Linked DNA regions of Homo sapiens: regions 1, 3, 4 and 5 are each linked to region 2. The links are contacts of gene promoters, found by promoter capture Hi-C in blood cells and fetal thymus (Javierre and others, 2016). All regions are on one chromosome and are shown on one strand. Each heading gives the region's core, a stretch centred on a gene start or on the middle of the fragment in contact. The rest is flanking DNA. Distances are from core to core; before and after follow the strand shown. Region 1 overlaps C16orf87 (chromosome 16 open reading frame 87). Region 2 holds the start of SIAH1 (siah E3 ubiquitin protein ligase 1). Region 3 has its middle 8.4 kb from the start of GPT2. Region 4 has its middle 21 kb from the start of DNAJA2. Region 5 overlaps ITFG1-AS1 (ITFG1 antisense RNA 1).

Region 1 (2,700 bases), core at 104-2,603, 1.6 Mb after region 2:
AGACAGAGCGAGACTCCGTCTCAAAAAAAAAAAAAAAAAAAAATGAATGTAGACTTCAAGCTGAAGATTGTGGATTGAAGAAACACATCTAGCTCTAAACTCCTTTGGGGAAATCTAAGAAAGAAACTGATTTTTATTACACAGTTACCTAAAAGTCAGGAATTTGTGTATCAGTTATGTCTGGAAGTAGAAGTGAAATTGAGGCTAAAAATGAGAGGATTGTTTGCAAGTCTTTTTATGAGTAGCCCACCAGGACTGTTTACCCTCTTATCCCCCAGGTTTATCCTTTGAAAAAGGTAAATAATACAGTCTTTGGTCTCAGGAACACCAGGTGTCTGTTGACGGCCAGGATACCATGTTAAGATCAGGAAGCCTAGGTGAAAATTGGACATAGTAAATGCTGAGTTCTTGAGTTTGGCTTATTAGCGTCCAGGTAAAAAAAGTAAAAAAGTTTGAACATATCTTCTCTAGAGAATCCGAAGGACCCAAGAGAAAAGGCCCCAAATAAAGATACTCTCATTAGAGATTCACAGAGAAGTGGCCTAATTGGATCATCCTAATCTGATGACTACAGTCAAGCTCCACGTATGTGTATGTTTCTAATCAGCTTCTTTGGTCACTCTCCTAAATATGAGCATATTGCCAAGAATTACCCAGATATCTGGAAGAAAGCATCTATTATAGTATGAAAGGCTAAGACCAAATCAACAGGAGAGAAAAAATAACTTGGAAAAAAGCAAGATTTTGCAGGGAAAAGAAAAACTATAAACTACTATTAATATCTTTAGCAAAAGAAGCAATTGTAATTGTAAAATGAACAAGGTGATATTTAAAAGGAAATTGCAGAGGTCAAAAAGCCAGTTGGAAAATGAACTTTAAAATATTCCAAAAAACCCCAAAACATAGATGATACACAGAAATGAACAACTTTAATAAAAGGCTTAAAGATAAAATTGAAGAAAGGTTCCAGAAACTATAACAATTGAAAAGAGATGGAAAAAACAGAATGGAAACCTTAAGAAATTTAGAGGACCAGTATGAGGTCTGACATCTGTAAATAATTAAAGTTTCAGATAAGGAACATGGAAGATGGAGGAGAAGGAAGTCATCAACGACTTTAACAATGACAATTATTTATTCAAGAAAATTTTTCCAACCTGAAGGACATTGAGTTTCTTTGTTAAAAGGGCCTACAAATTCCCAGTCTAAAAAGAGAAATGATGGTTAAAAAGAGAAATTATACCAGAGTTCGTCATCATATCTCATATCTTTGGTTAAATAAAATTTTTCAGGTTTTCAGAAAAAAGAAAAGCAAAATGATATTGGAACTAATACAATGCAATATTGCCCAGCAAAGAACAAACTACTGATATATGACTAGCATCAATGAATTTCAAAAACATGTTGAGCAAAATAAGCTAGGCACAAAAGAGTACATACTATATATGATGCCATTTATATGAAGTTTAGGAACAGACAGAATGATTCTGTGGTAATAGAAATCAGAACAGTGGTTGCTTGTAGGTGTAGAGAGGGATTGGCTGGAAAGAAGCATGAGGAATTTCTGGAGGAAATTTGTTATATGTTGATTGTGACATGGGTTACATGTTTGTATATGTTTGTCAGAACTCCTCCAGTTGAACACATAAAAGATCTGTGTATTCACTATATGTAAATTTATCATTGATTTTAAAAATAACTATAAAAAAGGTATTGGTTTTCTCAACAATGGCACCAGTAGTCAGAAGACAGTTTACTGCCTTCACAGTTCTAAGCGGAAACCTACAAGTCTATACTCAATCAAACTATGAATTAATGTGAAGGTAGACTAAAGATATTTTCTGACATTCAGGGTCTCAAAAAATTTGCTACCAATACTGCCTTTCTCAGGAAGCCCCTACAAGTTACCTGCTACCAAAATGAAGAAATAAACCAAGAAAGGATCTTTGGATTCAAGACAAAGGTGGGTCCACCCAACTCTAGAGATGAGAGTCTCCAGCATGATGCTGATGAAAGAGCACAAGATGATAATTTTGCAGTAGGCCTAGAGAGCAATCATTTCATACTGGAGCAGGTTGGAAGACTTGGAGCGATTTCTTCAAGAAGATAAAAATGATAAAATACCTGATACGTGTAAACATCCTGAAAAACAATTTATACAACTAGGAAAGACATTGGGTTGAGTTAGAAATGAAAACTAAGCAAGTAAAAAGAGAATCACTTCAGGGAAAACAATGTAAAGGAAAAGTGAAAAATCACTTACCATAGGCATAATAATGTAATCACTGAAAACTGATGTTACTAAAGTTGTGATTTAATTATAGTGAGAAGATGAGGGATGGGCAGAGTGTTTATTGGGGCAAGAGATGCAAAACAGTGTAACCCTTATTTTCCCTGGTGGAAAGTGAATCAGTAATGCCTAAAACCCTGAAGTAGCATCTTGTACAAATGTTACTTAGAGATTTGTTTTTGTAAAAGCAAAAAGGAACAACTGAAAAAAAAAGTCACAAAAAAAGTAGTTGCATTTGGAGAGTGGAAAATGTGTATGGGGCAAAGGACTTCTGTTTTTTTTTTTTAACAAGTTTTATAAAAATGATTTGATTGTAAATTATATGCATTTAACTTTGATTAGACTGTCAAAACAAAATAAACAAAAATAGAATCAGGGGATCCTGAAAAAGTAACTTGGAAGAATATACA
Region 2 (2,700 bases), core at 190-2,689:
GTTCTGGGGGCGAGAAACACATCTCACCCCAGAGCTGCTCCTCGCCCAGGACAGAACTCCTCTGCCCTTCACGACCAGGTCAAGGCCACATGGCTATGCCAAGCACATAGTCTGTAAAAATGGAAAATTTACCTCTAAACTGAAGTGAACCGAACTCTATTGACCTTCCCGTGTACTGAGGAGCTATAACTTCTCCCCAAAAATGTGAAAGTAAAATTGCAGTTTAAATCATGTAATTAGGAATACTGTAAACTAGTGTTTTGCACATATAAACTTTATCATACACTGGGAATTTGTACATACGTGCCCGGTATGGGATTTTTCTATTTTTATTTTTATTTTTTTGAGACAGAGTCTCGCTCTGTTGTCCAGGCTGGAGTGCAATGGCCTGATCTCTGCCTCACTGCAACCTCTGCCTCCCGGGTTCAAGCGATTCTCCTGCCTCAGCCTCCGAGTAGCTGGGACTACAGGCGTGCACCACCACGCCCGGCTAATTTTTGTATTTTTAGTAGAGATAGGGTTTCACCATGTTGGCCAGGCTACTCTCGAACTCCTGACCTCAGGTAATCCATCGGCCTCGGCCTCCCTAAGTGCTGGGATTACAGGCGTGAGCCACCGCGTCCGGACGGAATACCATTTTAATAGATCTTACATGGAATTCCAGTTAGGGCTTGTAAATGTCTCAGATGCTTGCTTCTGCTCATAGCACCCATCAAAGAATTGCAAGTGATGTTTTCCTTTTATTATTTCAAGAAGTGGAATGCAGAGTCCCTAATTAGGGACTTTCCAGATGAGCATGGACACAGGAAAACGCGTGCTTCCCCATTACCCACTTTTCAGCTGAAACAAGCTTTTGAAGCTCGTCCCGCTGTTGCTGAGGAGCGGCTCAACCTCGGGAGAGGCTGGGACTCTCTTTAGGGGTGGGGTCCCGGTCGGCGGGCAGGGCAGCCGCTTTTTCTTTGGGACTGAGTGGAGTTGGGAAGGATCCGTGGAGGCGCTGGGCTAAATCAGCAGACAAAACAAGGGGGAGGGCACAAGGCCGCGGCGGCGGCCAGCCTGGGGCTCGCATCCCGCTGGGCGACCCCTCCGGCCGGAGCCGGGGGGGTCACGCGGCCCCGGAACAAAGCGCCGCGGGAGGAGCTGCCCTGAGCCGACGGGCAAGCGCTAGCTTCTCGCGGGCCAGAGCGCCACGTGCCAGGATCCGTTGAATGCGCGGTGCACGGGCGCAGCAACGGTAGCCGAGTAGCCCCCGCACCTACTGCCGCCTTTGGAGACCCGCACAGCTACGCCCGCGGAGGCCGCCGCCGGCCGCGCCAACGCCTGTGCGCCTGCGCGCCCGCGAAAGCCCCGCCCCCCCAGGCTCCCAGCGCGCGGGGCCGCGCCTCCTCATGGCCGCCGCCGCAGTGTGTGGTATTTAGCGGGGGCGCGCGGCGGGCTCGAGGACGCGCGAAACGGCGGCGGCGGCGGCGGCCAGGGGGGAGCCGGGGCGGCCGTTGCGGGGCGCGCTCTCGAGAGGCGGCGGCGGCCCAGGGTGTCCCGTCGGTCTCGGCGCCGGGAAGAGGCGGTGGCGCTGCCCGCGGTGGCGGGGGTTGGCGACGGAGCGCGTTGGTGCCAGGACCGGGGTCCGAGGCGCGCTCTCCGCCCACAGGTAAGTGGGGCCCGGCCTGAGGGAGGAGCCGGCGGCGAGGGGCTCTCCGACAGGCGGGCGCCCAGGCCCGGTAATGGCGGAGGGCGGGAAGGGCGGCCCGGCCGGGGCGCGGGCAGTAGTCGGCGCGGCGGCGCCTTTGTCTCGGCCGGAGTCGGGCCGCCCGGTCGAGCGCCGCCCCCCGCCCCTCCCCTGCCTTCAGCCTTCGCAAGCCGGCTCGCCCCCGCCCCTGGAGCCCCGGGCCCGGCGGGGTGGCGGCGGGGGTCGGCCCCGCGCGGCCGGGCCGAGGGCGGGGGAAGGGCCTCGGCGGCGGCCCGGCCCCCGCGCGCCCGGGAGGCGGGCCCGGCCGGGGGTGGCGCCCGGCGCGCCCCGCGCCCTCGTGCCGGCCTTTGTTGTGGAGGGTCCCGGGGTGTGCGGCCAACATGGCGGAGGTCAGCTGAGTGCGGGCAGCTGCCGGGGCCCTGCCCTCCCTCCCCCTCCTCCCCGCGGCGCCCGGAGGCCCGGGCCGCACCGCGCCGCTCGGCGGGCCTCGGCCTCCGCTCTCTGCCCCCGACCCCCGGCTGGAGCCGTCCGGGACGGGGCTGCGCTCTTCCTGCCGCTTCGGCCGGAGGCTTCATTGTGCAGTGGGAAGAATGCAGCCTCCTCCCTTGTTTATGTCGTTAGAGAGGAGAGCGCGTGAACGGCGTGCCGGGGAAGCTCTAGCTTATTATAAACCTGGCATTTCCTAGGGTTCATTTGCCGGGTAGTTTGGGGTCCTTTCTTAACTCTCCCAAATTTATAACTTAAAGTGAATAACCTGGGCCACTCCGATGCGTAGGTTCGTTTTCGCTGTCTGCCCGTTCCTGGAAAGATACATAATTTGTTTGCTCGGACATTCAGAAAAGTCCAGCTTGGGTGTTCGGAAAATCAGATTGTGTGTACTTCTTTTGCCAAAGTCATAGAGGCCATAAACAAACAGAGAGACATGGATACTGGATATGGGACGGTGTTCTGACTGTCCCTTCCTAGCAGTTGAGCATTTACCTTTGCTTATAGCGGCTGTCAAGGGTAAATTG
Region 3 (2,700 bases), core at 184-2,683, 1.5 Mb after region 2:
TTAGCCAGGATGGTCTTGATCTCCTGACCTCATGATCTGCCCGCCTCAGCCTCCCAAAGTGCTGGGATGACAGGCATGAGCCACCACGCCTGGCCCATGTTTTTCTTTCTAAATGAAGGCCTCATTTTTTTTTGTTTGTTTGTTTTTACATAGAGACAAGTTTTTGCCATGTTGCCCAGGCTGGTCTTGAACTCCTGGACTCAAGGGATCCGCCCGCCTTTGCCTCCCAAAGTGCTGGGATTACAGGTGTGAGCCACTGTGCCCGGCCTTCTTTTTTTTTTTTTTTAATTTAAGTCAGGCTCAAGTTTTTAGGGGATGGTCAGGGAAATTTCGTTGAGATCCTACTTGCTCTGAGTCTCCTTGAAGCAAATCATTGCCTCTAACAAGCAAATATTAGTTTAGGTGAGCTAATAGCCGGGACACATGTATCCCAATGCTCTCACCATGACGTTCAAAGTGGATTAAAGATAAACTTATGATACTAAGCTAAGCTATACACAAACAAGGGACACATTCTTATGTAACTTACAGAGGTTAAAACTGAGTAAAGACATTTTACAAAAGTGGTGTTTACAATTCAGTACTGCATTGATAACATTTCAAAGCACTGGCAGGCACGTTTCGGTCTTGGCAGTGCACTCAACCAAATCCAGGTGGTTTCGGAGAATGAGGAGAGGCTGGAAGAGCTGTAGCGAATGAACAATTGTATAAGCTTCATGAGCAAATAAAACCTTTCATTCAGAGGGTGTTTGTTGTTCCATATTCCTTGATTTCTTGCTTCCTGATCTTTAGGGATCTGAGGACTCTTATTTGCGCCATGGAAGACATATGGAAACAATTTCAGAAACACCCCAAGGGACTAATAGAATCCTTATCTGCAAACTCAAGTGATTTCAGCTGTTGAATGTGCTAAAACACAGACAAAATATTAAGCAATGGCTCAAATCAGTATTTCCAAAAGGTTTACTTATCTAGTTTTCCTAGATATTTTCATAAAGCCACAGAATTTTTCAACTAGAGAAGCTCACAAAATAGTTTTGGGACCTAGAAACAGGAGAAAAAAATAATCATACAATACCATAAGCCCTATGCTTTGTAGTTCTCATTTATTCTTTTTGTTTTTGTTATTTTTGAGACACAGTCTCACTGTGTCGCTCAGGTTGGAATGCGATGGTGCGATCTCGGCTCATTGCAACCTCTGCCTCCTGGAGTCAGGTGATTCTCCTGCCTCAGCCTCCTGAGTAGTTGGGATTACAGGTGCCCACCACCATGCCCAGCTAATTTTTGTGTTCTTTCAATAGAGACGGGGTTTCACCATGTTGGCCAGGCTGGTCTCGAACTCCTGACCTTAAGTGATCCACCCACCTCGGCCTCCCAAAGTGCTGGGATTATAGGCGTGAGCCACTGCGCCCGGCCTATACTTTTATTTTTTTGAATTCTAGTTTTTTTGGTATCTTTTCTTTTCTTTGCTTTCTTTTTTTCTTTTTCTTTTTGTTTTAGATGGAGTCTTGCTCTGTTGCCTAGGCTGGAGTGCAGTGGCATGATCTCGGCTCACTGCAACCTCCGCCTCCCGGGTCAAGCAATTCTCCTGCCTCAGCCTCTTGAGTAGCTGGGATTATAGGCACGCACCACCACATCCAGCTAATTTTTGTATTTTTAGTAGAGACAGGGTTTCACCATGTTGGCCAGGCTGGTCTTGAATTCCTGACCTCGTGATCCACCCGCCTCGGCTGCCCGAAGTGCTGGGATTACAGGCGTGAACCACTGCACCCGGCCTCTATTTTTTGTTTTTTTTTAGAGGTAGGGTCTTGCTCTGTTGCCCAGGCTGGAGCAGTGACATGATCCTGGCTCCCTGCAGCCTCGAACTCCTGGGCCCAAGCAATTCTCCTATCTCAGCCTCCTGAGTAGCTGGCACTATAGGAGTTTGCCACCATACCTGGCTGATTTTTTATGTTTAATTTTTAGAGACAGGGTCTTGCCATGTTGCCCAGGTTGGTTTCAAACTCCTAGGCTCAAGTGATACTCCCGCCTCAGTCTCCTAAAGTGTGAATTCTAGTTCTTATTCATTCTTCAGAAGAAACGGGCAGAACTATTTACCTAGAGTATTATCTATGATTTGGGTTTAGCACCAGGTAGGCCTGGCACAAAGCTTTCTTTTTTTTTTTTTTCCTTCAACTTTTATTTTAAGTTCTGGGGTACATGTGCAGGACGTGCAGGTTTGTTATATAGGTAAACATGTGCCATGGTTGTTTGCTGCACAGATCAACCCATCACCTAGGTGTTAAGCCCAGCATCCATTAGCTATTCCTCCTTATGCTCTCTTTCCATCCCACCCCCAGCTTTATTAATAATAATATTATATAACATTTATAGGTAATATTTATTAGACTTTTAAAATATATTTTCTTAATAGAAATGGGGTTTTGCCATGTTGCCCAGGCTGGTCTCAAACTCCTGAGCTTTAAGCCATCCTCCTGCCTTGGCCTCCCAAAGTGCTGGGATTACATACAGGCATTGAGCCACTGCACCTGGACTTTTGGACTTTTTTTTTTTTTTTTTTGAGACAGTCGTGCTCTGTTGCCCAGGCTGGAGTGCAATGGCATGATCTTGGTTCACTGCAGCCTCCACCTCCCCAGTTGAAGCGATTCTTTTGTTTGTTTGTTTGTGTTTGAGATGGAGTCTGGCTCTGTCGCCCAGGAT
Region 4 (2,700 bases), core at 171-2,670, 1.4 Mb after region 2:
GGTGGCTCGTGCCTGTAATCCTAGTACTTTGGGAGGCCCAGGCAGAAGGACAGCTTGAGCCCAAGAGTTCAAGACCAGCCTGGGAAACATAGAGATCCCATCTCATAATTTTTTTTTTTTTTTTTTGAGACGGAGTCTTGCTCTGTTGCCCAGACTGAAGTGCAGTGGCGCAATCTCAGCTCACTGCAACCTCCACCTCCCGGGTTCAAGCAATTCTCCTGCCTCAGCCTCCCAAGTAGCTGGGACTACAGGCGCGTGCCACTACGCCTGGCTAATTTTTGTATTTTTTAGTAGAGACGGGGTTTCACCATGTTAGCTAGCATGGTCTCGATCTACTGACCTCAGGTTATCTGCCCACCTTGGCCTCTCAAAATGCTGGGATTACAGGTATGAGCCACTGTGCTCGGCCATCAAAAGTCTTGTAAATAATCTTCAGTTGCAAAAGATTTCGTAAAATTAGGAAGCCCACATCACCTGGCACAGACTTCTAGGGAACATTTTAAGTATGGTTGGTTATTTTTAATTTCCAAAAGAAGTTCAGTTAAATCTCTGGTCAAAGTGAACCATTAGCCAGTGCCACTGTGAGTCAAGCTAAACACGTTAGAAAACCTGACTTCTGCTGAGCGCAGTGGCTCACGCCTGTAATCCCAGCACTTTGGGAGGACCAGGCAGGCGGATCATGAGGACAGGAGATCGAGACCATCCTGGCTAACACGGTGAAACCCCGTCTCTACTAAAAATACAAAAAAATTAGCCGGGCATGGTGGCACACACCTGTGGTCCCAGCTACTTGGGAGGCTGAGGCAGGAGAAGCTTGAACCCACGAGGCAGAGGGTGCAGTGAGCCAAGATTGCACCCCTGAACTCCAGCCTGGGCAACAGAGCGAGACTTTGTCCCAAAAAAAGAAAGAAAACCTGACTTCCCAGCTATAGGAAGAAAAGAACCTGAGAAAGCTTATACCAGTGGTGGGTTGAGAATCTTCAGTGATGAAGCTTACCATTCTATGTGTGAATAGGTATCCCCTTTCATAATCTACAAATAGTATACAAATTATTTTTTTCTGTTAGGAAAGCAATACATGATCGTTAAAAAAACATAGAACTATCGACTTTAAAAAATTAATCTCCCCCAATCCAAATCATGTGCTCATGAGACTATCAACACAAAGTTGGTTTTTTGTTTTTGTTTTTGTTTTGTTTCATTTTGTTTTTTTCTTGAGACGGAGTCTCCCTCTGTCACCCAGGCTGGAGTGCAGTGGTGCAGTCTTGGCTCACTGCAACCTCTGCCTTCTGGGTCCCAGCGATTCTCCTGCCCAGCCTCCTGAGTCGCTGGGATTACAGGCATGCGCCACCACGGCTGGCTAGATTTTTGTGTTTTTGTAGAGACGGGTTTTCACTATGTTGGCCAGGCTGGTCTTTAATTCCTGACCTCAAGTGATCTTCCCGCCTTGGCCTCCCAAAGTGCTGGATTACAGGTGTGAGCCACCACGCCCGGCCTTGGTCTTTTTTTTTGTTTTTAATACATATAGAACTAAATTTTCCAACCTGTTCCCAGATGCAATCATTTTTACCAATTTCTCACATGTGTGTATGCAAAAATGGGATAAAATAACTTATTTTTACAACTTTTGGTCTTATTATTCCTTTGGCATATTTGCATAGTAATACATAAAGATCTATTTTTAATGATTTTAAAGTTCTGTTGTTTGAATGAACCATTTCCTACCTATTGATAGATGTTCGAATTGTTTCCAGTTATTACAAACAATGCTGTGGGTAACAGCTTCATACATATGTCGTTGTGCATTTGTACACAATGCTTCAAACCAGATTACAAAGTTAAGCTTCTAGTGCATAGAACGCTGGCATATAGTAGAACCTAAATAAATATTTATGAATGAAGGAAGTGCTTCTTGACCTCTTAAACCAAATCTAAGATCTGGAAGATCTGAAATAATGATCTAAATCCCTGCAAAGGAGCTCTAGAAAAAACAATACATCCCTGTTAGCACATGAGGATTAGGGGACAGAACCAAAATATATTTTACAAGAATATAGTGCAACACGGTTGGGCACTGATTTCTTAACTTCTTCACCACAAGGACCTCATGCAGGAATATTTTGCTTGGCAAACAAGTAATGATTACTTACATTTTTACTTTTTTTTTTTTTCTTTTAATGGAGACAGGGTCTCATGCTCACCGGACTGGAGTGCAGTGACACAAACAAAGCTTACTGTAGCCTCGACCTCCTGGGCTCCAGTGATCCCCCTGCCTCAGCCTCCTGTGTCACTGGGACCACAGGTACGTGCCGCCATGCCTGGCTAATGTTTTTACCTATTTAGGCACAATTTTAAGTCCTGAAAGCTATGATGTGACTCACAGCAAAATCAAGCCTATAAAATGGGGATCTATGTTTAAAAGGGGATCTACTTAATTTTAGAGAACGCAAGATTTAGTGAAGGAGAATGCCTGTATAGACACCTCCTGAAAAAATACAGGTATTCTTGTAGGGAAACATCCACCCGAAGACAGCCCAGTACCAAGCTTTATGTGCTAATCCTGATGTCATTGGGAAGCTGGGTTCCCCTGTTGGCAACTGATTCCAGCTGGACTCATTTACAATGTTCTGGCCTTGCCCAGGCATCTAAAGCTCGATTCCAGAGAGCTCACTGGGAGAGTTGAGCTGTTCCCTCTGAAGG
Region 5 (2,700 bases), core at 85-2,584, 1.2 Mb after region 2:
TGTAACAAAATTTGTAGGAGGCAGTGCTGGGGGGTGGTATTTATAACACTAAATGCACATATTAACAAAGAAGAAAGGTGATGAAAGAAACCAAGGAAGACTTCAATGGAAAGACAGTGTGTTCATGGATTAGGAGATGCCAGTACTCCCCAAAGTGATCTGTACATTTCACACCATCCCTATCAAAATCCCAGCAGTATCTTTTTGTGGACATGGACAGGATTTTGTGCAACTTATATGAAAGAGAAAATAAACTAGACTAGTTTAAAACAATGTTGAAAAAGAAGACAAAGTTGAAGAAATCAAACTATGTGACTTTAAAACTTATTATAAAGCTTGAGTAATAAAGATAGTGTGGTATTGGCAAAGAGAGACACATAGACCAATGGAATAAAATTGAGTCCAGGAATAAACTCACACAAATATAGACATTTGATGTTTGACAAAGATGTAAAAGTTACTAAGTGGAAGACAGTCTTTTCAACAAATAGTGTCAGAACAATTGATCATCTGTATTTGCCATAAATACAAAGGGCAAAGGAGAAAAAAAGAACCTTGATCTAAACCTCACACCTTACACAAAAATTAACTCAAAGTGGGTCATAAATTCAAATATAAAATGTAAAACTATAAAACTTTAAAAGAACACATAGAATGTCTTCATAGGCTAGGGGTAAGCAGAGTTCTTAGAAATGACACCAAAGTTATGATTCTTTTTAAAAACTGATAAATGTGACTTCATCTAAATTAAAAATGTTTGCTTTGACAAAGACACTTCCAAGAGAATGGACAAGCTATATATGCAAAGAAAAAAAAATTTTTTTTTTGAGATGGAGTCTTGCTCTGTCACCCAGGCTGGAGTGCAGTGGTGTGATCTCGGCTCACTGCAGCCTCTGCCTCCCAGGTTCAAGCAATTGTCCTGCCTCAGCCTCCCAAGTAGCTGGGACTACAGGTGTGTGACACCATGCCTGGCTAATTTTTGTGTTTTTAGTAAAGATGGGGTTTCACCATGTTGGTCAGGTTGGTCTCGAACTGCTGACCTCAAGTGATCCACCCGCTTCAGCCTCCTAAAGTGCTGGGATTATAGGCATAAGCCACCATGCCCGGCCAAGAAAATATTTTCAAATCACATATCCAACAACAGACTTGTATCCTGAATCTATAAAGAACTCTCAAAACTCAACAATACAAAAACTCAGACAAGATGACACCTAAGGAAGCTCCTGCCTCTCCCAAAGCTGAAACCAAAGCAAAAGCTTTGAAGGCCAAGAAGGCAGTGCTGGAAAGCATCCACAGCCACACACAAAAAGGAGTATCTGCACTTCACCCACCTTCCAGCACCCCAAAACACTACAGCTCTAGAGACAACCCAGATATCCTCAGAAGAGTGCCCCCAGGAGAAACAAGCTTCATCACTCTGCCCGATTCCCTGAGCATTGAGTGTGCCATGAAGAAGACAGAAGATAACAACACACTTGAGGTCACCGTGGATGGCAAAGCCAACAAGCACCAGAGCAAACAGGATGTGGGGAAGCTCTGCAACACTGATGTAGCCTGATCAATCAGGCCCAATGGAGAGAAGGCGTGTGTTTGACTGGCTCCTGCTTATGATGCTTTGGATGTTGCCAACAAAATTGGAATCATCTAAACTGAGTCCAGCTGGCTAATTCTAAATGGACATCTTTTCACCAGTAAAAATAAAAAACAATTTGAGTGGGCAATAATTTGAGGATACTTCACTGAAGAGGATATATAGGTAGCAAACAAGCATATGAAAAGATGTTCAACCGGATATGCCATTAGGGAAATGAATACTAAAACTATGAAGAGATACCAATACACATCTATCATGAATAAAAAGTGCTTTCATGGATAAAACAAAGAATACTGACAATTCAAAGTGCTAATGTGGATGAGGAAAAACTAGAATTTTCATATATTGCTGGTGGGGATGCAAAATAGGAAAGCCACTCTAGAGAACAGTTTGGCACTTTCTAAAATCAATTGCATTTTTATACGCCAGCATGAACAATTAGAAAATGGGATTTAAAAACAGGTAACATTTATAACAGCATCGAAAAAGTCAAGTACCTGGGAATTAGTATAACACAAGATGTAGCATACATCTCTGTCTGGTAAATTATAAAACTTCTCTGAGAAACGCTAAGGAAATTTTCAATAAATGCACATCTGTAACCATGTTAATGGACAGGAAGACTCAAAATTGTAAAGATGTCAAAGCCCTCCCAATTCCACTCATCCCAACGGGGTGTTGTGTTGCCGAGCTTGCTAAGAGGTTTCTAAAATGTACACGGAAATATAAGAGACCAAGAACAGCCAAGACAATCTTGAAAAAGAATAAGGACCTGCTCTACCAGGTAACAAAATAATAAAGTTAGGGTGATTAGGCCAGGCATGGTGGCTCACGCCTGTAATCCCAGCACTTTGGGAGGCCGAGGCGGGTGGATCATCTGAGTTCGAGACCAGCCTGGCCAACATGGTGAAACCCTGTCTCCACTAACAATACAAAAATTAGCCGGGCGTCATGGCACAAGCCTGTAATCCCAGCTACTCGGGAGGCTTGAGGCAGGAGAATTGCTTGAACCCAAGAGGCAGAGGTTGCAGTGACCCAATCATGCCATTGCACTCCAGCCTGGACAACAAGAGCGAAACTCTGTCTCAAGAAAGAAAAAGTTAGGG

The links. Contacts are between HindIII fragments. The CHiCAGO score rates a contact against its expected background, and 5 or more counts as called.
Region 1: a fragment that was not itself captured here is called in contact with the fragment with the promoter of SIAH1 in region 2 in 1 of 17 cell types (non-activated CD4 T cells); the score reaches 5.7 in non-activated CD4 T cells.
Region 3: a contact is called between a fragment that was not itself captured here and the fragment with the promoter of SIAH1 in region 2, in 2 of 17 cell types (M0 macrophages and total CD8 T cells). The highest score is 7.3, in M0 macrophages.
Region 4: a fragment that was not itself captured here is called in contact with the fragment with the promoter of SIAH1 in region 2 in 5 of 17 cell types (activated CD4 T cells, naive CD8 T cells, naive B cells and 2 more); the score reaches 7.6 in activated CD4 T cells.
Region 5: a contact is called between a fragment that was not itself captured here and the fragment with the promoter of SIAH1 in region 2, in 1 of 17 cell types (activated CD4 T cells). The highest score is 6.9, in activated CD4 T cells.

What each region holds. Positions count from the first base shown.
Region 1 is chr16:46,803,599-46,806,298 of GRCh38, reverse strand. All of the region lies in intron 3 of C16orf87 (chromosome 16 open reading frame 87), which reads left to right. Among named protein-coding and RNA genes, the nearest start is that of C16orf87, 26 kb to the left of the region's middle. The HindIII fragment of the contact is 3,620 bases long and covers 1-2,700 here.
Region 2 is chr16:48,384,152-48,386,851 of GRCh38, reverse strand. SIAH1 (siah E3 ubiquitin protein ligase 1) reads left to right here and starts at 1,439. Exons shown (of 2, transcript NM_003031.4): 1 at 1,439-1,648. RefSeq lists silencers at 1,011-1,830, 1,931-2,000, 2,091-2,360. The HindIII fragment of the contact is 2,947 bases long and covers 853-2,700 here.
Region 3 is chr16:46,874,597-46,877,296 of GRCh38, reverse strand. No RefSeq gene overlaps it. Among named protein-coding and RNA genes, the nearest start is that of GPT2, 8.4 kb to the left of the region's middle. The HindIII fragment of the contact is 1,437 bases long and covers 715-2,151 here.
Region 4 is chr16:46,951,434-46,954,133 of GRCh38, reverse strand. No RefSeq gene overlaps it. Among named protein-coding and RNA genes, the nearest start is that of DNAJA2, 21 kb to the left of the region's middle. The HindIII fragment of the contact is 851 bases long and covers 995-1,845 here.
Region 5 is chr16:47,149,080-47,151,779 of GRCh38, reverse strand. All of the region lies in intron 1 of ITFG1-AS1 (ITFG1 antisense RNA 1), which reads right to left. It also overlaps the pseudogene RPL23AP72. Among named protein-coding and RNA genes, the nearest start is that of ITFG1-AS1, 6.4 kb to the right of the region's middle. The HindIII fragment of the contact is 151 bases long and covers 1,259-1,409 here.